Regions from separate parts of the Homo sapiens genome. Here all the other regions are linked to region 2. The links are contacts of gene promoters, found by promoter capture Hi-C in human tissues and cell types (Jung and others, 2019). All regions are on one chromosome and are shown on one strand. Each heading gives the region's core, a stretch centred on a gene start or on the middle of the fragment in contact. The rest is flanking DNA. Distances are from core to core; before and after follow the strand shown.

Evidence for each region. Contacts are between HindIII fragments. The study calls those that stand out against the background at their distance.
Region 1: a fragment that was not itself captured here is called in contact with the fragment with the promoter of PPFIBP1 in region 2 in 2 of the 25 tissues and cell types used here (adrenal gland and hippocampus).
Region 3: a contact is called between a fragment that was not itself captured here and the fragment with the promoter of PPFIBP1 in region 2, in 11 of the 25 tissues and cell types used here (IMR-90 fibroblasts, aorta, bladder and 8 more).
Region 4: a contact is called between a fragment that was not itself captured here and the fragment with the promoter of PPFIBP1 in region 2, in 3 of the 25 tissues and cell types used here (adrenal gland, mesenchymal stem cells and ovary).
Region 5: a fragment that was not itself captured here is called in contact with the fragment with the promoter of PPFIBP1 in region 2 in 2 of the 25 tissues and cell types used here (liver and thymus).
Region 6: a contact is called between a fragment that was not itself captured here and the fragment with the promoter of PPFIBP1 in region 2, in 3 of the 25 tissues and cell types used here (H1 embryonic stem cells, aorta and hippocampus).

Annotation. Positions count from the first base shown.
Region 1 is chr12:27,601,468-27,605,118 of GRCh38, reverse strand. The region is part of intron 2 of PPFIBP1 (PPFIB scaffold protein 1); the gene reads right to left. Among named protein-coding and RNA genes, the nearest start is that of PPFIBP1, 79 kb to the right of the region's middle. The HindIII fragment of the contact is 3,618 bases long and covers 1-3,361 here.
Region 2 is chr12:27,522,608-27,526,499 of GRCh38, reverse strand. It overlaps PPFIBP1 (PPFIB scaffold protein 1), which reads right to left and starts at 2,294. Exons shown (of 30, transcript NM_003622.4): 1 at 2,135-2,294. RefSeq lists enhancers at 1,672-2,272, 2,519-2,978, 2,876-3,477. The HindIII fragment of the contact is 12,160 bases long and covers 1-3,892 here.
Region 3 is chr12:27,447,529-27,451,222 of GRCh38, reverse strand. All of the region lies in intron 1 of SMCO2 (single-pass membrane protein with coiled-coil domains 2), which reads right to left. Among named protein-coding and RNA genes, the nearest start is that of SMCO2, 2.6 kb to the right of the region's middle. The HindIII fragment of the contact is 8,253 bases long and covers 1-3,694 here.
Region 4 is chr12:27,622,850-27,626,820 of GRCh38, reverse strand. All of the region lies in intron 2 of PPFIBP1 (PPFIB scaffold protein 1), which reads right to left. Among named protein-coding and RNA genes, the nearest start is that of REP15, 72 kb to the left of the region's middle. The HindIII fragment of the contact is 5,434 bases long and covers 1-3,971 here.
Region 5 is chr12:27,399,721-27,403,358 of GRCh38, reverse strand. BMAL2 (basic helix-loop-helix ARNT like 2) reads right to left here. Exons shown (of 17, transcript NM_020183.6): 10 at 2,585-2,825; 11 at 1,996-2,102; 12 at 1,685-1,835; 13 at 682-740. The region is part of intron 1 of BMAL2-AS1 (BMAL2 antisense RNA 1); the gene reads left to right. Among named protein-coding and RNA genes, the nearest start is that of BMAL2-AS1, 45 kb to the left of the region's middle. The HindIII fragment of the contact is 4,832 bases long and covers 1-3,638 here.
Region 6 is chr12:27,427,949-27,431,402 of GRCh38, reverse strand. All of the region lies in intron 1 of BMAL2-AS1 (BMAL2 antisense RNA 1), which reads left to right. It also overlaps a transcript of SMCO2 not described here. Among named protein-coding and RNA genes, the nearest start is that of BMAL2-AS1, 17 kb to the left of the region's middle. The HindIII fragment of the contact is 6,575 bases long and covers 1-3,454 here.

The DNA of each region.
Region 1 (3,651 bases), core at 303-2,802, 79 kb before region 2:
TAATCATATGGTTTGACTCTGTGTCCCCACCCAAATCTCATCTTGTAGCTCCCACAATTCCCATGTGTTGTGGGAGGGACCTGGTGGGAGATGACTGAATCATGGAGGGGGTCTTTCCCATGCTGTTCTTGTGATAGTGAATGGGTCTCATGAGATCTGATGGTTTTAAAAATGGGAGTTTCCCTGCACAAGCTCTCTCTTTGCTTCCCGCCATCCATGTAAGATGTGACTTGTTCCTCCTTGCCTTCTGTCAAGATTGTGAGGCCTCCCCAGCCACATGGAACTGTTAAGTCCCATTAAGCCTATTCCTTTTGTAAATTTCCCAGTCTCGGGTGTGTCTTTATCAGCAGTGTGAAAACAGACTAATATAGGTAAAGAGCTCTCTTCCTAGAGGAGATGTACACAAGTGGTTCCTAATTGAATGGAGACCATTGTGTGCACACACAACAGCGTCTATTCACAGATGCTCTGGGAGATCCATGCGAGAGGCAGGGAGCCTCCCATAGCTTAATTTTATTTAGCTTCAGGGAAGTGCAGAGAAAGCTTTATTTATGCTAAGAATAGGATGGACAGAAATATAAAGCACTAAATCAGCAAAATCATTTACAGGCAGGAGGTTTTGGCCCACAGGCAGGTCTACTAATGGGAACTCTGTGATGACTGATGAGAATAGCCAAAGAGATGCCAAGAGACATCCAACCCTCATCTCACCCCACCCTGCAATCCAGGCTCACCTGTTGCGGTTCTGCTCATCCTCAATTCTCTAATTAAATTAAAGTTAATTATTAATTATAACAGGCATTCACATTTACTGCTATTTACATTCATTCTTCACTCACTCAGATACTATATATCATCTTTCTGATTTTCCATAATATAATAAAAACACTGTAGGCTACCTCCTATCTCCATTTTCTCCAACTGGGTTAGTCTGGAGCTGGACGCCAGTCAGTCTGCCTCTGAACCCTTGGGGTTCCACTTAGAGAATCAACCTTGAGCATTTCCACCTCTTACTTCCACCCCATCCCCACTTTTCTTTATAGTCCCCTAGAGAACTAGAACAAAGGTCTTCACATTTTGATCACTTGACTTCTAGTCCTTTAAGGATAAGTAGTAAAATGCCAACTCTGCTCTTTGATCTGTACTTTCTTGTTTCCTCTGATGTAAGTAACAGTACCCAGGGAGTCTATGTCTCTCCTCCTTCCCCACAAACATATTTTGTGCAAAATTCTTCCCACCAAGGGGGTTGTCTACCCAATTTAGAATGGTGCCAAAAGAAGAACAACTGTTGGCTCTGAACATCCAGATTAGATGACACTCATTTCACCAAACCTCTGCTTAGCCCAAAAGGATCCCTTCTGGGCATTTCCACCCCAACTAGAGATGCACTAGAAATGGTCTCCAGTGTGGCTCTCATGCAATTGAAACATTGCGAAAGGATGCTAACTCTGGTGGTTCCCTAACCATGATGGCCAGAATCCAGGAGGGGTTTGTTGGTCAGGCACCATGTTGGCAGATGCTGACACTTCCTAGAATGAATTCGATCCACCTTGCCCTGGTGGAGGCTCCAATCCAGTGGGGGAGATAGTCAGATAATCACATAAATCCAAGTATAATTATTGTGTGCACACATGATTTTGATATGGAATCAGGGTTGGAAAGTAGTCTATGTCTGACATTTTAGAATAAAATACAAACATTTTTCCCAGAAGGGTATTGCCAAGGAAAGTGAGAGGAAGGAGTTTGTCTCCTCAATTATGCAATAAAAATAAACCATTTACAGAACATCCCACATATATAATCATTTCAAAAACTCTGCAAAGACAACATTATCATCTCTATTTTATAGATGCAGCAAAGCCAGGTTAAAAATGAACCTGCTGCAGCTAGAAGTGGCAGGATGCAGCACCTGGAACCTGATAGGCACTCAACTGGTATGCACACAGTTGCTGAATTAATAACGATTTGAAAAATACAGAAAATATTCCAACAGAGAGCGAGGAGAGGACTGTAGGTTGCCTGTATTTGGTGTTGCATGAAGCACCATCAGGCTTGGCCCAAAGTATGTAGGAGCCTTGACATTATAAAATACAATAAGAAAGGCTGTATGTTTGGCAGCTATACGAACAATTTGAATTTCTTTAGCAACTGGTTCCATCATGCAATAGCCTGGCCACAGCATATTGGAGAATTCAATAGAGACAAAAATGAGATTAATACCTGCAATTTCTACTGGAAAGGGTTGTTGCAAAAACTAAATGAGGCTATCTATACACAGGCAGTCATATTGTCTGCAATTTTTCAAAACATTACAACATGGGTATTTTTGTGATACAAGGGTAGTAATTATTTTTAACCTATACCCTGGGGTAGTTAGCATTTGAATGACTAATCAAAAGCTCATGTAAACAGAAAACCAAGTCAACCATGTTTATCTCTGATGAATACCAGAGGGTTGTTACTTAGAATAATGAATGCTGCAAATGATTTTTCAGTGTTCATAATGGGCTCTAAGTATTGTAGACTTCCCCACTCTTGCATAACCTGAAAATAAGAGTCTATCTAGCTCAGTTGTCTACGTCTTTCAAAGGGTGCCCTCAGACCTTGAAGTTCTGGGGATCTGATGTACAGCATGGTGACTACAGTTAATATTCTTTTATATACTTGAAATCTGCTACAATATAGATTTCACACACACACACAGTGAGGTGATAGATGTGTTAATATGTGTTAATAAACTTGATTGTGGTAATCATTTCACAATGTATGCATACATGAAATCATCACACTGTACACCTTAAATATATACAATTTTTATCTGTCAATTATGCCTCAATAAAGCTGGGTAGGGAGGGGGAAATGGTGTCCTCAGCTGAAGACTCTCTTCAGTCCTGTTTCTAGATGCTTTGGAGGAAATTTAGTCACCTCATGCTGTCAAGAAAGTTAGCCCAATCCTGACGCTAGAATATTGTCCCATCTGCTTCTAATGAAACTTTTTGCTCAATGTTCTCCAGATCCAACCAAAGGACAGAGCACAGGGACTGTCTAGAGCAGCTCTGTCCAACAGGACTTTCTAAGATGACATAAATATTTTGTTCACCTGACTAATAAGGTAGCCACTAGTTCAGGTGGTCACTAACCACTTGAAATGTGGCTAATGTGACTGAAGAATCAATTTTTGTTTAATTCCATTTAAATTTTAGTAGCCACATGTGGCTACTGGCCATCCTGTTGCACAGCAGTTTGGGAGCTTACAGAACAAGGTTGTGTGATGTTTTTGTGCCTGCTGGCCATGAAATGTTTATATGTGTGGCAGAATTCAGTCTGTAAGTTGTGTTCATGGCCGTGCTAGATGGTAAAGTTGTGGGAGAGGGAACCTGTAGTTCCCCTCTATTAGCACTGTGGACTATGTCAACTCATGATGCATAAACAACTCAGCTGAGGTCAGTTCTCAAAAGAGGCAGCATGGCTGCAGGGAGTCCTGGACTCTGGAGGCGAATCTAGGTCCTCTGAATTGCACAACTTAATATTAGAATGAAAACACATAACTCAGAGACTGTCATAAAATTAAATTATCAACCATGGGAAAGCATCAAGCAGAGTGTGTAGCCTTTGGCAGCGGTATGATGCAGTTTAACCTTGTGTACACCA
Region 2 (3,892 bases), core at 1,045-3,544:
AATTTAACCAAAAACTGATCCTACCTTTCTCAATAACTCAAACATCTTTTAAGTATTCCGTGTTTTCCTACACCATATCTGCCTCATAAACATGGACTGAGAAAGAGAAATATTGGTTTAAATTAAGTATGTAAAATTACTGCTATTATTCAAACTGTGAATCAAATTTAGAGTTTTGGTATATTCAAGTCCCTAAACTAGGACTAGTTTCTTGGAAAGAAAGTGTAAATCTGAATTTGGCACATAAGGATAACATCCTAAAGATACTCTTCTTTACTGAACCGTCTGGCTTTTGCAGCCCCATCTTTTGGTATTACAAATGCAGTTGGAACACTATCAGCCAAGGAACACTACCGTGAGTTCACATTAGCCCACAGGAACTCCACTCCACAGCTCTATCCTACTGAAAAAGTACACTGGAAAATACAGTATGTTTTATGTACTCCCCATAGAACATAAATAGAAAAGACTTGTTCACCATTATTGCAGAGCCATTTGCAATTTCTGTGTCTTAAGCCAAAATACAAACCAAAATTAAAATGTTGTCTTTCCAATAAAGCGAATTTTCCTTTCTCAAAAAGCCTGCTATTTTATCCACTCTATTTAATTTTTTCAGGAACTAACAACAATACAGACCCAGGTATGTCATAAACAACAGCACAACCAAACACTTCTTTCTAGTTCTGAAACCTAATGATCATTTGGCTAGAAAGATAGAGAACCCCATCTATAGTCCTCTATCCCTTTTCCTGACTTGGGTTTACTAGACCTACTGTTGTGGCTTCTTTCTTTCTCCATCTCCTGGAAATGCCTTTTCCCTTCAGGGGCCTGGGATACGGATTTTGACTCACAATGAAGTCCACTCCCATTTCCTCCAGACCTGGCAACAGTAGGATCCTCACTGCTGAGGAGGAACTTCGGTGAAGGAAAGGGGAAACTTGACTCAGGAGTCTCAGCGCTTACTTTTTTTTTTTTTTTTTTTTTTTCCTTCCTGCTCCAAAAGAGAGCCTTAAAGCACTGATGAGAGGGTCCTGAATCGGTGTATGGAGTCAATTTCCCCGCCCCCTCGAGAAAGTCAATCACACCCAGTTAGTGACCTGGGCACACAAAATCTCCACATAGGAAAAAGACAGGGTTTGAAATAGGAAATAAACAAAAATCAGAATTCTATTCTTTCACTTCTTAAAAGTATCTTTTTCCTCCCGCAATTGCTTTCTCAAAATACCAAACTTGGACTTTGAAATCAAGTTCTTTTTCTATTGCTCTCCGCAGTTCTTACTGAAAGCAAGGATTTGTTTTGGTCCCACATGTTGAAAACTTCACGTCCCTATAATTAAGAGTTTATATGCCACGCCTTCCACCGCGTTTCCCTGTTAAAACTCCCTTCTCTAAAAAAGATCCCTGAAAACACAACTACCAGCTCGCCCCTCAAGCAGCCACAGGAAACAGATCTGAAGATTCTCAGCAGCCATCCTAACCTCTCCAGATATAAAGCTGGCAGCTGAAGGGATTTCTCGGTTAAAATGAGTGAATACTAGTTGCAGTTTTAGAAGTGTGCCCCCAAGAGACGAGTTTTCCCGCAAGCTCATAATTAATAAACACCCCAAGTGAATTTCTCACATCCTGACTGGATTACACAAAAGGATATTTTACATTGATATATAAGACTAACATTGATATTCTTTTAATATATAATAGGCCACAAGGAGACAAAAAAATACAAAACTTTTTTTTTCTTTTCAACGAGCATAATTTTTGAGTCGATGATCCATAATTTTTTGTGGCATTTTTAAATGCCTCAATACACACAGACAGAGAGACACACACGCCCCTCTGGTTGGGGTTCTCAGGTATTACCGGGAGCCTAGGGTGTGGGGGTCTAAGGATACAGACAAGACCTAAACGTCCAATCCTGGAGTATTCTTCACGTACAAGCTCGGTCCAAGCCCCAGGAGTTAAGCCCTACCCCTCCACCCCCACCACCCCCAAAAAGTGCCCGTTCCCATTGGGAAACAGGAGTGAGTTGCACAAGGAAATCGACCCGGGGAAGAGGAGGAGCAGCTGCAACAGCCAGCTGCAGCCACACAACGGTGCCACTTCCCTCCCGTCTGGGAGTGGAGCAAAACGCCCTTACCTGGGGGGTGGAGAGCCGCCGGCACTAGTTCCAAAAGTTCTGGTCCACCTCCTCTCGGAGTTCAAAGCCCCAGCACTCCGGCCCGGCCGCCAGCTCGCAGCACACGAGTCCTTCCCCGTCCTTTCCCCACCCTGCCTGCACTACACCATGTCAGGAATCCGGGCAGGCACCGAGCTGGGAGCTGACATCACTCCCAGTTCCAGGTACCTCCCCCTCCCACTGCCGCCCTTCTCTCCTCCCTCCCTGCAGGAATCAGCCAAAGAGAGTCAGCAGTGGGGCGGGGCCGGGGGCGCCTGCGCGCCCGCTGATTGGAGCCGGGGAACGTCACTCAGAGGAGTCCACTAATTTTATGCATTCCTCGCTGAGCCAGACTAGGGCTGGAAGTGGGTGGATGGAAGAAAATGCTGCCCTTCCTGCTATCTCTAAGGAACGGAGATAATCCGATGGGGAAGAACCTGGCGGGTCGAGTTTTAAACTTTTCTTGTTGTAGTTACTGAGATTCCAGATCAGAAACGAAACTAACCCACGCGAACCCCCTTTTTAAGGAGAAACAATTGCCTCGGTGTCACAGGCACACGGGCATGTACAAGCCCGGCGGCGCGTGGTGTAGAAAATGGCTAGCTTTAAGCCATGCAAATAAAGGAAAACGTCAGCTCACCCTTCTGCCCTTTTATCCTGGGACTGCTGGGTGTTCCCTTAGACGGGGAATGTAGAACTTCAAAAGCACTTCAGAAAGATTTGGAAGAGACTCCTGAAAACGGTGACCGAGCTTTGAATTGTTAAGTGGTGGTGTTGTCAGCCATGTGGCTGCTGTTGCTTTTAGCGATGAAAATCACACCACACAAGCTTCTCGGGCAAGTAAAATTGAATCTCTGAAGCAAGAAAAATGTATTTCCCCGTTTAAAGACCTTAAGGCTGCTGTTTCAATGCACACACTGAAAAGGGTGGAGGAAGGAGGGACCTCACAATTGAGTTCCACAAACCACATGAGAATAATTACTGTAGAATGGAACCAATTGTAGTGGCTGAGCTCTCAATTAAGAATTAACTAACGTTTATCCTTGACAGATATCATGCGGTATAATCCCCTTGGCTGACAGAAGAAAAAGATTCTCAGAAAATGGTTCTTTCAAGGCAGATGCTGCTTACAGGCAGACCTGAATGGTGAAAAGCAGCTTTATTTGTATGAGATATAGGTAGCATATAACCCACCATCTTCTAAAAATATAGTGAATTAATAACTTTCTCTTTTTTTTCTTCTTTTTTTAAACAGGTCACTCTGCCACCCAGGCTGGAGTGCAGTGGCATGATCTGGCTCACTGCAACCTCCTTCTCCTGGGTTCAAGTGATTCTACTGCCTCAGCCTCCGAGTAGCTGAGACTACAGGCGCCCACCACCACACCCGGCTGATTTTTGTATTTTCAGTAGAGACGGGGTTTCCGCCATATTGGCCAGACTGGTCTCGAAATCCTGACCTCAGGTGATCCACCCTCTTCGGCCTCCCAAACTGCTGGGATTACAGGCGTGAGCCACCACACCAGGCCTCATTGTTTTTTGATTGATGACATGCCATACATTTACCGATCTGCCAAAAATTGTAGAGGGATGCACAGAATCCAGCATTGTGTCTTGTTTAATCTTCTCAATCATCCTGTAAATTGAGTGTTACTAGCCCTATTTTAACGTAAGGAATCAAAGGCTCAGCAAAGTTATGTAAGTAAATTTCTCCAAATCAGCTAGAACTTGGATTGAAACCGA
Region 3 (3,694 bases), core at 392-2,891, 75 kb after region 2:
GTTTTGCATTTGCTAATTCAGTGTTCACAGAGACTCTACAGAACAGAACTACCAGGTATAATGAGAATTAACTGTAATCTGAAATTTTGGACAGAGAACAAATAGTAAATAATAACTATCTGTAGTAGTAAAATAAATGACAGATATATTTGTATCTTTCTATTATTTACATGAGAAAAGATGAATGAGAGCCTCGGCTTGGCAATTTGTAAAGTTTATCAAAATCTAGAATTCTTTGGAATAAATCAGTGTCTCCTAAAGCTTCTAAAATTTCTCTTTCACTCCTCCCAAGAAATTATTTAGGGCAGCAACTCTTTCCCTGTGAGGATAGCCTCGTTCATGGACATAACTTTGCAGTACTCACTGTATGAAGCCAATCATACAAAAAGACCAAGAAAACACCACCTAAAAAGATTTAGCCCATTTTACCTTAATATAGAATTGTTATTTAATTTTATGAGACAGGCAAATATTCTTGAAAGTCAATTTCTAAATAGCTATAAGAATACTTAGAAAAAATCTAGGAACAGTCCTTCACCAGTGAGCATTCTTTTCAACATCTATTCTCTGTTCCTGGTTTAGATAAAGATTGGCAGCACTGCTCCCTCTGTGAGCACTTTGGGTTGTGATCCTCCTCGTGCTGATTTACCAGTCCTGAAGTATGGCTTCCCAGGAGCCGCTGAGGGTAAAATCAATGTTAACTTACACTCATCTTCAGCACACTGTTTGCACTGAAGGAATGGTCCTAGCCTTACTAGTGTTGGATTTTAACAAACTAGGTGAGAAGAAGCCTCAGCTAGTTGATAAAATTCATTTGTAATGAGGACACAGAGGTCCAGTGGAAACTGGGCATCAGAAGAAACAGGCGAGGTCACATGGTGCTTGTCAGGCAGCCCAGCCTAGTTGGTGGGGGGTGGGGGCAGGGAGGGAGGAGGGCCAGAGAAATAGGGTGCCTGCCTCCTTCCCAAGGTAGGGATTGCAAGGCCTGAATCAAGAAAGGAAGGTCAACAGCCTTGAGGAGAATATGTTTTGGTGACCAGGTGTGACCCTCAGAACAGGACAGGCAGCCAGAGGCTCCACAGACCTCTACCCTGAGAGGAGCAGAGCTGAGCTGGGAAGAACTCTGTGTTCCTGAATGTGGCCCACAGAATCCATTCCGCACAGCATTTGATAAGATTGACTTAAGAGGAGACAATTATGATTGGAGTAGGGGTCATGAGCTAAAACTGGCCGATGAATGGATGGAGGTGAGAACGAATGAAGGGAGGCAGCAAAGGCAGGGCTGCCTGCTCGAGTCTTTCAACAGTCCTACAGGAAGGGCTTAGCTAGAGATTCGGACCCACGTAGCCAGGCATTAAAGCCCAAGAAATGGGCTCAGCCCCTCCTTTTGGTTCTCTAATGGGGGAAAACTGGCCTTGTAAGAGCCTGTCATTGTATTATAGGACAATGGAAATACCCAGCCAGAGAAATAGAAGTCCAATGTACCAAGAGGGGAGTGGGACATAATTGGTGTTATCAGTGCATCACTCAATGGATTTGTATTGGATATTTTAACTTTTCCCCCCTTCAAGGGACCAGATGAGAACTAAATCTGTATAAATCCTTGGGTGTGACCTTTAACTCAATCCAAGGCACAATAGGTTTTCAACCACATTTTCTCTGTGCAGAAAAAGTTTCCAAGAAGGAAATGGAGGAGAAGCCTCATTACTCCCTTCTGTCAGTCTCTTACTGTGATCCCTCCATAAGCAGTTTCCTGTGTTTCTCACAATTAATTTTAATAATTTCATTTTTGCAGAGAATTCTGTATAATTGAGAAAGTATGTCAACTTGTTCCTATAATTTTTTCAGAAGTATGCAGCAGGTGACAGATTTTGTCCCTTACAAAGATAAACATAACGAAAGTATGAAATGTTTGTTCATCCAAATGTTGTTTATGCAAAGATCAGAGCAAGTATTTCGTTTGGGTGTGGCAGTTCAAAGAAACACCTTGATGACCTTTGCGGCTTATCTAATAACGCTAGCATTATGTTTTTTTTGTGATCACGGAAGCGGGTGCAGGGGTGGCATGATTTATAATTCAACAGTCTTGGTTTAGCCAGTCTAGAACACTTAGGAGCATATAATCAGGTCAAGTTTTCAGACCCACACAAAGCCTGCAGGGTGGCTGAGACCTAGGCTGGCCTTAGTCCTCAACTTTTTGAGCCAACATACACTTGAGTCTGCAGTGGATGGACAGTTTCCCACCGCTTGCCTTCTCTTTCTCCTCTTTCAAAGTCCTTCTGTCTTTTACCCCTTTGATTCTGGTTTGACAATTCCATTCTTCTCTCATTATTTGGTCAACTGGTAGACTATGTGTGGGAGCGGGAGATTGAGGGGTTTAGAGAATCATGTGGTTGGAGAATGAGGGTAGAGGATGTTAGAGTGACCTCCGAGTGAATTATCAATAAGACCATAAGACCTTTCTCAATGCAAATGTTAACCTCCAGCTAGTACATATTAAGCTGATTATTCTGCTTAAAGGTCATTTGTTTACTGCCTCACCTTGAACCACATTATAAAAGGTTCCCTTGTTTACTTTTGTTTAGAACTGGAGAGAGGATTTTAAAAATTTAATCCCAAGGGTCCCAGAGCCTGGCTTAAGGAGCTTAAGGGTCTGCTGGCCCCAGTTTAAGTTTTGTTCTTCTGACACAATGCCGAGAAAAGCATTGATTCCAGTTCAATTCTCAGGTTTGTTTATTTGGTTTTGCTTTTATGCAGTTGGGGGAAAATAGAAAGAAAAATGGCATTAAGTTCAAGTGTGGCCACCCTTTCTATTTCAACAAGTAGTATTCTACTAAACTCAGTAAAGACTTGCCGCTTGGGAGAACTAAGGCGGAGGGCACTCTTCTTTATCGTGCAATTCTGACCTGGCAGACATAGCATTCTGGGTTTACATCTATTATGTCACTAATCCTGACAACACCTCTGTAGGGTACTTGATAATATTCTCAATTTAACAATGAGTAACAACTTCTGGGAGGAGGGTGACTTGTTCAAGGTCCTACAGCTAGTAAGTGGTAAATCAAGAACTTAAGTCCAAAATTTTCTAACCGGAAAGCTAATACTTTCTCTACTTGTTTCTAAAAACATGTATTTAATTGATAACTATTTTTGAGCATCTGCTATGTGTCAGGTACTGTGCTGGAGTGGAGAATGCAAGCATGCGTAAAGATACAGTTCCTGTCCCTGCGGAGCTTGCAGGCCACTTGGCTCTGGTCAGGTGCAATGTGTTAAGTGCTAGGGAAGGTTGCGGTGGCAGCACATAGGAGAGGCACTCGGCTGAGTTTCTGGGGCTCAGACGCGTAAGTCCAGAGAAAGTACATCTACAGAAGCCCGAAAACAGTTTCTCAAATTTTACTGTAAATGTGAATCATTCTAGGATCTTGTTAAAATGTAGGTTCTGATTCAGGAGGTCTGGAGTGAGGCCTAAAGTTCTGCTTTTTTTTTTTTTTTTTGAGACAGAGTCTTGCTCTGTCTCCCAGCCTGCGATCACCACTCACTGCAGCCTTGACCTCCTCCCACCTTAGCCTCCCGAGTAGTTGGGACTACAGATGCGGATCACCATGCCCAGCTAAGTTTTTGTATTTTTTATAGAGACAAGGTTTTGCTGTGTTGCCAGGCTGGTCTCAGGCTCCTGGGCTGAAGCGATCCTCCC
Region 4 (3,971 bases), core at 1,161-3,660, 100 kb before region 2:
GCTGAGGTGGGCAGACCACTTGAGGTCAGGAGTCGGAGACCAGCCTGGCCAACATGGTGAAATCCCACCTCTACTAAAAATAAAAAATTAGCTGGGTGTGGTGGTGTGAGCCTGTAGTCCCAGCTACTGGAGATGCTGAGGCAGGAGAATTGCTTGAACCCAGGAGGCAGAGGTTGCAGTGAGCCAAGATCGCACCACTGCACTCCAGCCTGGGCGATAGAGTGAGACTCCATCTCAAAAAAAAAAAGAAATGCAAATCCCTAGACCCCACCCTAGGTCTACTGAATCAGAAACACCAGAGGCAGGCCCAGCAATCGGTGTTTTTCCAAGCCCTCCCACTGGCTCTGAGGCGCACTCAATCACTAGACTCACACACACTGAGGCCTGTCTTTCCTCCTTGGGACAACAAGCCCTGCCCAGATGAGGTGGGAATTGGCTGACAAGGTAAATAAGGGCAGAATTCCTCTCCCCACGCCTCAGCTTCTTACTTTACATCCAAAAATAACAGCTCCGAAGAAGCCATTCAGGTTTTAATTCAAAAAACCTCTCCCTTTAAACCTCAACCACTATAGGTACTTATGCGTGCAACATTTTAGAGATTCTTAAATACAACCCTCCTTGTTTTCTGTTTCTCTGCTCTGTATCTGTCATCACATGTTTTTTTCCTCCCCAATCTATTAGCCCTTCTCACCACCAATCTGCTCTAACATCCCTAGAAAATTAATTCAGAATCACTTGGAAAGGGCAAAACAAGGGCAGGGGAGGTGGCGAAACCAGAAAAGGTAGGGGATGTTGGCAGCAGGGGCGATATCTAATGTTACAATACTTTTTTTAAAAAATGGGGTCTGGCTATATTGCCCAGGCTAGCCTCAAACTCCTGGGCTTAAGTGATCCTCCCACCTTAGCCCCTCCTGAGGAGGCTTCAAACTGTAAAATAAGGCCAGGCGCAGTGGCTCACCCTGTAATCCCAGCACTTTGGGAGGCCAAGGCGGGCAGATCACTTGAGGTCAGGAGTTCGAGACCAGCCTGGCCAACATGGGGAAACTCTATCTCTACTAAAAATACAAAAATTAGCTGGGCATAGTGGTATGTGCCTGTAGTCCCAGCTACTCGGGAGGCTAAGGCAGGAGAATCACTTGAACCTGGGAGGCTGAGATTGCAGTGGGCTGAGATTGGAGTGCCACTGCACTCCAACCTGGGCGACAGAGCAAGACTCTGTCTCCAAAAAAAAAAAAAAAAACTGTAAAAAACTGTAAAATAAGTATAGAATGGATGATATAACTGGAAATTTGAACAGTGTGTATTTGATATTAAGGACTTACTGTCATTCTAAGGTTATTAATAATGCTATTATACTTATCTTTTTTGAGTCCTTATTTTTTAGAGACAAGTTACAAAATACTCATGGATAAAATGATACAACATTTGGAATTTGCTTTAAAATAAAATAGAATAAAATAAGGGTAAAGATATTAATAAAACAAGATTAGCCATAAGTTGATAATTGTTGAAAATGGGTGGTGGTATGTAGGGGTACACTATACTATTCTATCCATCTATACAAATATTTTTTGAAACAGTCTCATTTTATCGCCCAGGCTGGAGTGCAGTGGCGCAAACATGGCTCACTGCAGCCTCAACCTCTCTGGGCTCAAGCAATCCCCCCATCTCAGCCTCCCTAGTAGCTGGGACTACCACACCTGGCTTATTTTTGTAGAGACAGGGTTTCGCCATGTTGCCCAGGCTGGTCTTGAACTCCTGGGCTCAAGCAATTTGCTCACCTCAGCCTCCAAAAGTACTGGGAGTAGAGGTGTGAGCCACTGCACCCAGTTGGGTATCCTATCTATATTTTTATATATTTGAAGCTTTCCATAATAAAACGTTTCAGTTTTTTCATCCATGTATTTAAACCACAAAATTTTCAACACCTTCAACCATGACATATTGTCTTAGATATTTTATTTCTCTATCATAACCTCAAGCATACTAAGGGCTCACCAAATATTTATAAACCAAATAATAAAACACTTGTTACTTTAACCACCCTCACAAATACAAACACACACATGCACACGCTATTCAGGAAATGGAACAGCCACTCACAGAGGATTGTAAGGCAGAGTACAAAAGAGGGCGTATTAATGACAATACATTAGTAAAAGTTACTTCTCTTGTTCACTAAAATGAAACGCCACAAAATACAAAGAGGCAAAGCTAGTAAGTAATCAAGTAAATGAAGCAGCAAGGGAAAATAGGATGAGGTAAAAGGAAATGAGCCTTCTGGCTCTCTGCTATTAATGCTTAGGAATAACCAGAAGAGAGTTGATGAAAAGTTTCATACAATAAGCCAAGATCTTTTACTTCTCGAATAAAGGATGCTGCTGCTATTGAAAAACTGATGTGTATTAAATGTCAGTAGATTTGAAGATCTTGTGATAAGTTGTGACAAGTTGAAAGAAAGCTGCAATTCTCCATATCTACTCTTACTAGCTATTGTTATGACTACACGGAGGAGTTAGGAATTTGTTCAAGGTCACTGAATAAGTGAGATTTGAGTCTAAAAGCCATATTGTTCCCACATATGCCTCTCACTCATTTGGTAGTTTCTAATCCAAACCATAAACTATGTACAGGACTGCCGGCCTCCCACCATACTGCAAAGACATGCCCTCCTTAGAAGACACTTCTGCCCTCTCACCTCTGTGCCATGACATGCACTGATCCCCCTACTGCTTGGACCCTCTTCTTTGTCCTGGGACACATGTTTTTCAAGGTGGGTCATGCATTCTTTCCTCCAAGGCCAGCCTGACCGCCACCTCCATGACAGCCCTGATTTTACAGTGATTGTCTCCTGGATGAAGCTGTGTGCTCCTTGAAAACAGACTGTATTTCTGCTATCTGCTCCGCATCTTCTAGTGTGGTGGACACCAAATGCTTGCTGTGTGCAGCTATGACTCAGTGGCTCCGCAAACACACACACACTCTGATGTCTTAAGTATCCTGGCTCCCATATGCCCTGTTTTGGCTGATAATATCACCTTCCTCTTAGCTGCATAAGCCAGAAAACTACATCTTGACCTTTACTTGTTTTTTTGTTTGTTTTGTTTTTTTTGAGACAAGGTCTTGGCTCTGTCACACAGGATGGAGTGCAGTGGCATGATCGCGGCTCACTGCAGCCTTGACCTTCTGGGCTCAAGTGATCCTCCCACCTCAGCCTCCCCACTAGCTGGGACCACAGGTGGGTGCGACCATACTCAGCTGATTTTTAAAATTTTTATTTTTAGTAGAGGCCAGGTCTCGCTATATAGCTCAGGCTGGTCTCACACTCCTGAGCTCAAGCAATCCTTTCCCCCTTGGCTTCCCAAAGTGCTGGGGTTACAGATGTGAGACACTGCACCGAGCCATGACCTTAAATTTTAAGATACATTTAGATAAATGCGATCATTATTATTAGCCTTGCTATCCACAATCTTAAAAACTGAAATTTCATGCTCTTTGAGATGTAGGCGAATCAAATTCATTGTACTATTTTGGAATGACATTATTCCTAAGAGTTTGCAAACTTAGTCCCCAGTATTATGGAGGAGTATCAGCGGGTCTGTTTCAACTTGTTATTGCTCTACCCACTCTAACTCTAACCTCATTCTTCCCTTCTTTTTAACTCTTTAAAACCTGGAGACTCATCTATCTCTATTTTCCTTCACAGGCCTACCAACCTAATGTATGCAGGCTACATGGACTGCTTCCTAGATATAAGCAGTTCTGGGATATGTATACCCATAGGAAGACAGGAGTGAGCAACAGCTACTCAAAGTTGTGAAGAAGAAAAGAATAATAAATTCCTATACATGAGCACCTTCTAAAGGAATGTTTTATAAACCATGGGTCACGACTCCTAAAATTAGAATGTACTGAAATAGAATTATTAGACTAAAATCAGTATTTCTTTTTATTAAATAGACAACAAAAGG
Region 5 (3,638 bases), core at 879-3,378, 120 kb after region 2:
TCCTTAAAAGAAACAGACTAGCTGCATCCAAAAAAGTTGGAAAACACTCATCCTTGCATTACATATGTAATTCATGATGCTCTTTGAATCAAATGTGTAGAGTCACTGAGGGCACAATTGTGACTAGTAACCCTTGACTCCAGTCTCTTGCCACTTTAATCTCCACAGCAATACTACTTCAATGTTTCCTAAGATTTTTATTTTTACAAATAATACATTAATATATTCCTGTGGTGAAAAACTCACACAGATAAGCAAAAACTCCCCCAATACTTTTCGTTAATTTGTCCAAGAGTGTCACAATTGACAAGGAACAATGTTAGCTGCTAGGGCTGAAAAATGGATAAAACATCATTCCTGCCTTAAAGAACTGTCTACTGGAAAGCAAGTTGAATGAACAACTAATTGCAGTATAATGCAAGATTATAACAGAAAAGTGAGCAAAGCACTGTGGGAATTTTGAGGGGGACATGGTGATACCTCTGGGAGTTTAAATGGGATATCTATTTCCCGTTGAATTTAGTCTCTTCTAAACCAAAGTTGGGATTCCTATAACCCAACCTGCAGAACTACTTTTAATTTCACCTTCAAATTTTCCCCTCTCCAGGACAGAAAAAGATAGTAATAGTCTTAATAATATGTCTTAGTAATAAGTCTTCCATCATCTAAAAGTAAGCTTACCTTCTGATGATTGAGAGCTACAAGGTAAAAATGATGCTTCTCCAGGCTCACTATGTCCCCTAGAATTAAAAACACCATAGGTGATTTACTTTCTAAGGTGAAGGAAACTGTTATAGCAACTACACTAAGATCTGTATATTTAATTTGTCAATTTGTGGCCCATTTATGTTTTATATACACATATTGTTAGTATCACCACCAGAAATCAAGGTCTTAATGTGCTAAGTATCATGGTGTTTGCCAAATGCCCCATTCCTCTATAAAGTATGTGTTCTCACAATAACAAACTCTCAGTTCCTGTACTAATAATAAGTAGGCAAAGACTACTGGGATGGGTGACAGGAAATACTGGAAGTATTAAACTTTTTTTTTTTTTATTATTTTTCTCTCAGTATTGTAGACAAGGAAATAACTGGTTCAAGGAAACCTTACAGCAATTTCAAAGAGAAACTTACAGAAAAAAAGTAAGACTTACAACGGGGCCATCCTAGCCTCCTATAAAATCAGGAAAACTTGACTCTTCCTTCAGGCTGACACAGCTACAGACCAGAGCTTGCTAAAGCAACACCTGGGCTGGATTTCTGTTCTCCCCCGTGCTGAGCATGCCTACACAGACATGGCGGCACCCCAGGCTTATAAGATGTGCAGGTAAAAATGACAGGGAGGACAAAACAATTTCTTACAATAATGCACAGTAGAAATCCACGTCTGCATTGTTTACTGAATGGCCATGGAGGGTAGGAAGAAAATGCTTGAATAAATGCCTTTACCCTCACATATTATATCAAGTAAGAAGGAATGTATTACAGAAATGAAAACTTTTAGCTTAATTCTGAGAACTAATGTCAATGAACAGTAAATGAATTACTCAAAAGATAAATCTCAAGTTACAATAAAAGGCCAGAGGATCACACAGTTTTAATGGTTTAGCAAGATGAGAGGAGAAAAGCAAAGAGACTCATTTGAAATCAATATAAAGGTCTTAACATAAAAAATTACTTACAAAACTAAAGTGTTGACAGATACAATATATTCCAGTTCTTTTGTCCAAGGATTTGTGAAACTAAACCATTGGCTTTTTAAAGTTACAAAAGAGCCATCTTTTGCTCTGAATTTGTAGGAATCTGTAAGTATTTTCTCCTTACTCTGTAGAACTTAACGAGAAAAGATAATTATCAGCATAATAGTCAATGACTATAAAAATCAATGTTGTGAAGATTAATTCAAACTTCAAATTTCACAGGAATGGGAAATTAAGAGTTAAAACTGTCATTTTAAATTCCCCAAAATGTATTCTGCTCAATGCATACCTACCTGCTTTGTGCTTGTCAGTCAAATTATTGTGGTCATCTTGATGAAAATATTCATAACAAGAAGTTCCCAAAAGTTCCTGAGGCAGATATCCTAAAATCGCTGTTGCCCTGGTTTCAAAATTGAAAATAAACTTCAGAAGTGGTGAGTGTACTCCCTCCCAGAAGACTGTAGGCCCACATATGGTCAGGATCGTAAAGAAGTGCACAGGGTAGGGGATGAGTGACCCATGCATATCACTGGGCTCCCCTCGGCTGCCCTAGACCCAGACTAGAGCTGCAACACAGAACAGGCACCCAGGCATGAAGCCTCCACCCGATCCAGGCTGTGCTCCTACTAGCTTTTGCCAGTAAAATCGTGGCCACAGATCATGCCCAGTTTCTGCACCACTGGCTAAGAGACACTCTTCCAAGTTTACATGTTGGCTTAAGCAAATTTACTGACATGTCCATATTCTTATTTCATTTAAACTTTATTTTCTGTTCTGAAACAGAAAAAAGAAAAAGAAAAACTAGCAGTGCTACTAAGACACGCCTTTAATAGCTTCAAATATCCCATTGAATTCTAATCATTATAACATGTAAATGTTTACCTTTGATCTACATAGACAAATTTTCCATTCACTGCAAACCGGGTTATAAATTCAGTTGGTTTCACATTAATCTCTCCACTGTTCTGTGGAACAATATATGGCTGTAATCTTCCAATGGCCACAAGGCAGGTAAAATTACTGTTGTCTTTCTTACTGTTCCTTTCTTCTTCCATTCCAACAATATTTGGAGGCCAGCTTCTCAAGTAACCAGTGCAATGGATAGTATAGAATTTTCTGTGCTCTAATTCAAAGATTTTTAAAAAGGACATTTGGATCATTATAAATAAGTCATTAAATTTCTTATATTGACATCTATAATAGTTATAATTGTGCTATAAAATGCTCTTTAAATATGCTAAAATATGAAAGGGGAATGGTATTCCATTGAAAAGATATCACCAATTTTGTTTATTTCATGACTTTATTATTAATAGATTATTTTTCTCAGGAACTAAATTGTATGTACTACATGAAAAAACGAACAGGTTGCTCTATTTTAGGATTAACTAGGTCTATGACTTAACATATTTCCAAGTCAATTTTTAAAATTATAGTAATTTACATCTATTAGAAAAAATTAATCCTCATGCCCCCTTGCAATATTGTTTTCACCTTATTAAGTTTTTTGGTATATCGTAACTTATATTCAAAACTTTAAAAAGACATTTAAATAATTATGCATACATTCTTAAATTTCTTATGTTAGTGCTTATAATGGTTAACAGATACATAAGGTTATAATAGATTATAGAAACATTTTAAAGAACACTTGGAGAAATTTATAGTGAAAAGTACAAAAATAAAATAAATTTCACTTTTTAGGAAAATCCCAAGCAATTAACTCATAGGAAGAAGCTTGTCAAGCATGTCCACCAAAATAATAAAAAATTGGAAATAATCTATATCCTCAAATATCATGCTTAAGCAAAAAATAAATCCAATACGGGCATAAACAATGAGTAGGCTACAGATTATGGCATGCCACAAAAGTGATTTAAAGGTTAAAAAGTAGGGGGAAAGCCTGATAAAAATTATTTGAAACAGCTGTTTTTAT
Region 6 (3,454 bases), core at 307-2,806, 94 kb after region 2:
GCAAGATGAAAACATTCTAGAGATCTGTTGCAAAACAACATGACTACAGTTAACCACTAAATGTGTGGTTCAGTAGTGTTAAGGTAGTAAATTGAGGCCAGGTGCAGTAGCTCATGCCTGTAATCCGAGCACTTTGGGAAGTCGGATCACTTGAGATCAAGAGTTCAAGACCAGCCTGGCCAACATGGCGAAAACCCATCTCTACTAAAAATTTAAAAAATTAGCCAGGCATGATGGTGCACACCTGTAATCCCAGCTACTAGGGAGGCTGAGGCAGGAGAATGGCTTGAACCCAGGAGGCGGAGGTTGCAGTAAGCTGAGATCGCACCACTGCACTCCAGTCTGGGGCAACAGAGCTGTCTTAAAAAAAAAAAAGATAGTAAATTTCATGTGTTTTTTCATAACTAAATATCTTTTGTAAAAGAAATTGCTGTGCTTTGAGTTCAGGGGGTTAGGGTCCCCGAGAGCACACAATAAATCAAAGGTTTATCAAAATCACAGTTGAGAGCATGCATCGAGCTGCTCGGGTCTGGATTCTAACTCCACTGCTTATGAGCGGTGGGGTAACCTTGTTAAGTTACTTAACTCTTAAGCCCCAGTTTGCTTGTGTGTAAAATGGGGGATAATACCAGCATTTATCTTCAGGATTCTTAGGAGGCTTACATTAATACGTGTAATAGGCTTAGGAACTGTGCCAGCCACGGTAAGTATTTAATAAAGGTTCGATTTTATTCTTATTCCCTCAAAATTTCAACAACGCAAGAGAATTCAGATTGTAGCATTGGGCAGATGGTTCCAAGAATAAACATGTTGGAATTAGATTTCTGTATATAACAAAAGTTTAAAGGAATGCTAACACAGCCAAACTGTTTCTGAAAGTTTGGTTCTAACACAGTGGAACCTCCTGGGTTCGAGCAATTCTCCTGCCTCATTGATGGGTAGTCTGATAAATTAAAAACTTTAAAAGGAAATGTTAAAGTCAGAAAAAGCCACTATTCCCTCTGTTTTCTTATATTTTATAAACAAAATATATAGAACTATATTTTATAGTTTGAACACTTTTCAGAAAATAAGAGAAGAAAAAGTGATATACTATCACATAATGGAAAGATCAGTATCAAACTCTACTGTGTTTATTAACTTAAACAGCTTGGTACTGGTGAAAGAACAGACAATCACATTAATTCAACTCCCTGCCCACCACCACCATTACTTCATTTCAAAACGAGTACCAGAATATACAAGAACTTAATCGATGGTAATGGCAACATTTCGAATCAGTGGGAAAAGAAAGGACTAGTCATTGAAGAGTTGTGGAGAAAGGGCATAATATTTTGGAAAGAAAAATAGACTCCTGTATCTTATTAGAGGCCAAAATAAACTTCAGCTAGATCAAAGACTTTAGTATAAACTACGAAACCACAGGACACCTAGAAGGAAACTGAGGTGTGTGTTTATTTGATCTTGGGGTGGAGAAGTTTTCCCTCCTAAGCATAACAACAAAGAAATTAGGCAAGAAATATCAACATATTTAACCACATAAAATTAACTCTGGAAAGAATGCTGAATGCAAACTGTTTTTTATGGCAATTGGGCAATTTTGATTTGGCAATTGCACTCCAAGAAATTCATTCTAAACAACAGGAGAGAGGTGTACAGCATGTGTGTGTCTAGAAGGGATGTTAGCTGTCATATTACCCACAATAGCAAAACTTTCCGACATCCTAAATGCTTCATAATAAAGAAATATTTAAATGAATTGTTGACTTCCTATTCTATACTCATTCTGGGCCATTCATGAAGTGACAATAAAAGTATACTTAGAAACATAACTATAAATATGATAATCAGCTAAAAAAAGGTATAAGTGGTTGCTCTGGAGAACAAGAATTAGGGCTAAGGTGGGGACTATTTTTTTTTTTTTGTAATTTTATGACTTCAAATGCTATCTGACTTTTAACCAATATACGCATTACTTTGTACAATTTTATTATTCTTTTTTGTATTAAACAGTAGGATTCTAACTTTAAAAAAGTCATTAGAATATAAAGGCCTTGAAAAAAGAGAAAGACTACTCAAGTGTTGACTATGGTTTTTCACTAGGTGGTAAAATTTTTTATTAGGTGATTTTTATTTTCTTCTTAGCACCTTTATATAATCCTGAATTTTCCAAAAATGAATGTAAAGTTCTTTTACAAACAGAAAAAAAATTTAAAAAGCAATCTGCTACTAATACGTTACTACAAAGAAATAGTGTCTTTTTACTCCATAAGTTTTAATTATTTTACATATAATCTATGTGTCCATTTTCTCCCTCAAGAATAGATATTTCAGACACTACAACTGTGTTTTGCTTGACCTTTGCTAAATCAAACTGAACATTCATGGGCTGCCAAATAATTTAATCATCAGCTAATTATGTGATATTCGTCTACATGTCCCTTCTGGTAGATGGGAAGCCTTTTGGGTGATTGCTCAGTCAACAAAGTATTGAATAAAATTTTCAAGGGCTCTAGTAAGTTTTAAGTTTATGTAATCTAGGCATCCCATTTTAGTGTAGTTTTGTAAAAAAAAAAAAAAAAAAGTACATTTATTTCATGTATTTACCCCCAAGGTAAAATGTAACAGGTTTCCTCCTGGACAGGAGTAAATGTGAGAAGCATTGCCTTAAAGTCAGCCAGGAGCCAGGAGTGTCTAAGAAACTGTCATTCCAAGGCCAGAGGCACACAGCTGGACAAGAATTTAAGACAATTCTTTACTGACTCCCTCAACACACAATGCCTTAAGCAATGGACAGAGTCCTCCACAGTGACTAGTGGCTGAGTATTTTAAAAAAAAAAAAAAGGTGGCCAAGATTAACATTAAAAAGGTGTGACACAGCTTTCTCTGCCTTGCCTCCCCTCCTCAACAAAAAACAACCAAAACAGCCAAACAAAAAGATTGAGGCTCACATACTCAAAGTGCCTTTGCAAAAATTATGACAGTGAGAAAAATCTGACATAGGAAAATTATGACAGTGATAGAAATCTGACCTAACCAGCTCCATCTTGCTTCTAACTTCCAAGGTGTCCTTGTTCATTCCTGGGTGTAGGTTGAATTAACTTTGGGAGGGATTTAGTTTATAGTTTAACTTTGAAACAAAGATGCTAACAGCCCCTCCCTGAAACAAAACCACTCCTTGCCTGGGGACCAGACTGCCTTTGTAAAACTAACAAATTATTTACAAGATCAGAAATTATGGCTCAGGAGTATTCCCAACCTCCCCAATTGCTCCTGTGGATAACATCACTATTGTAAAACCTAACATTGGTGTTCAGAGATGTTTCTGATGAACCAACTGGTGTCACCCACAAGGGTAATCCGGTTCAACTAGTTCTGCAATCCCATCCAGGAACAGAAGACAGCAAGAAAAACCAGCTTCAACCCCATATGATTTCATCCTTAACCCGACCAA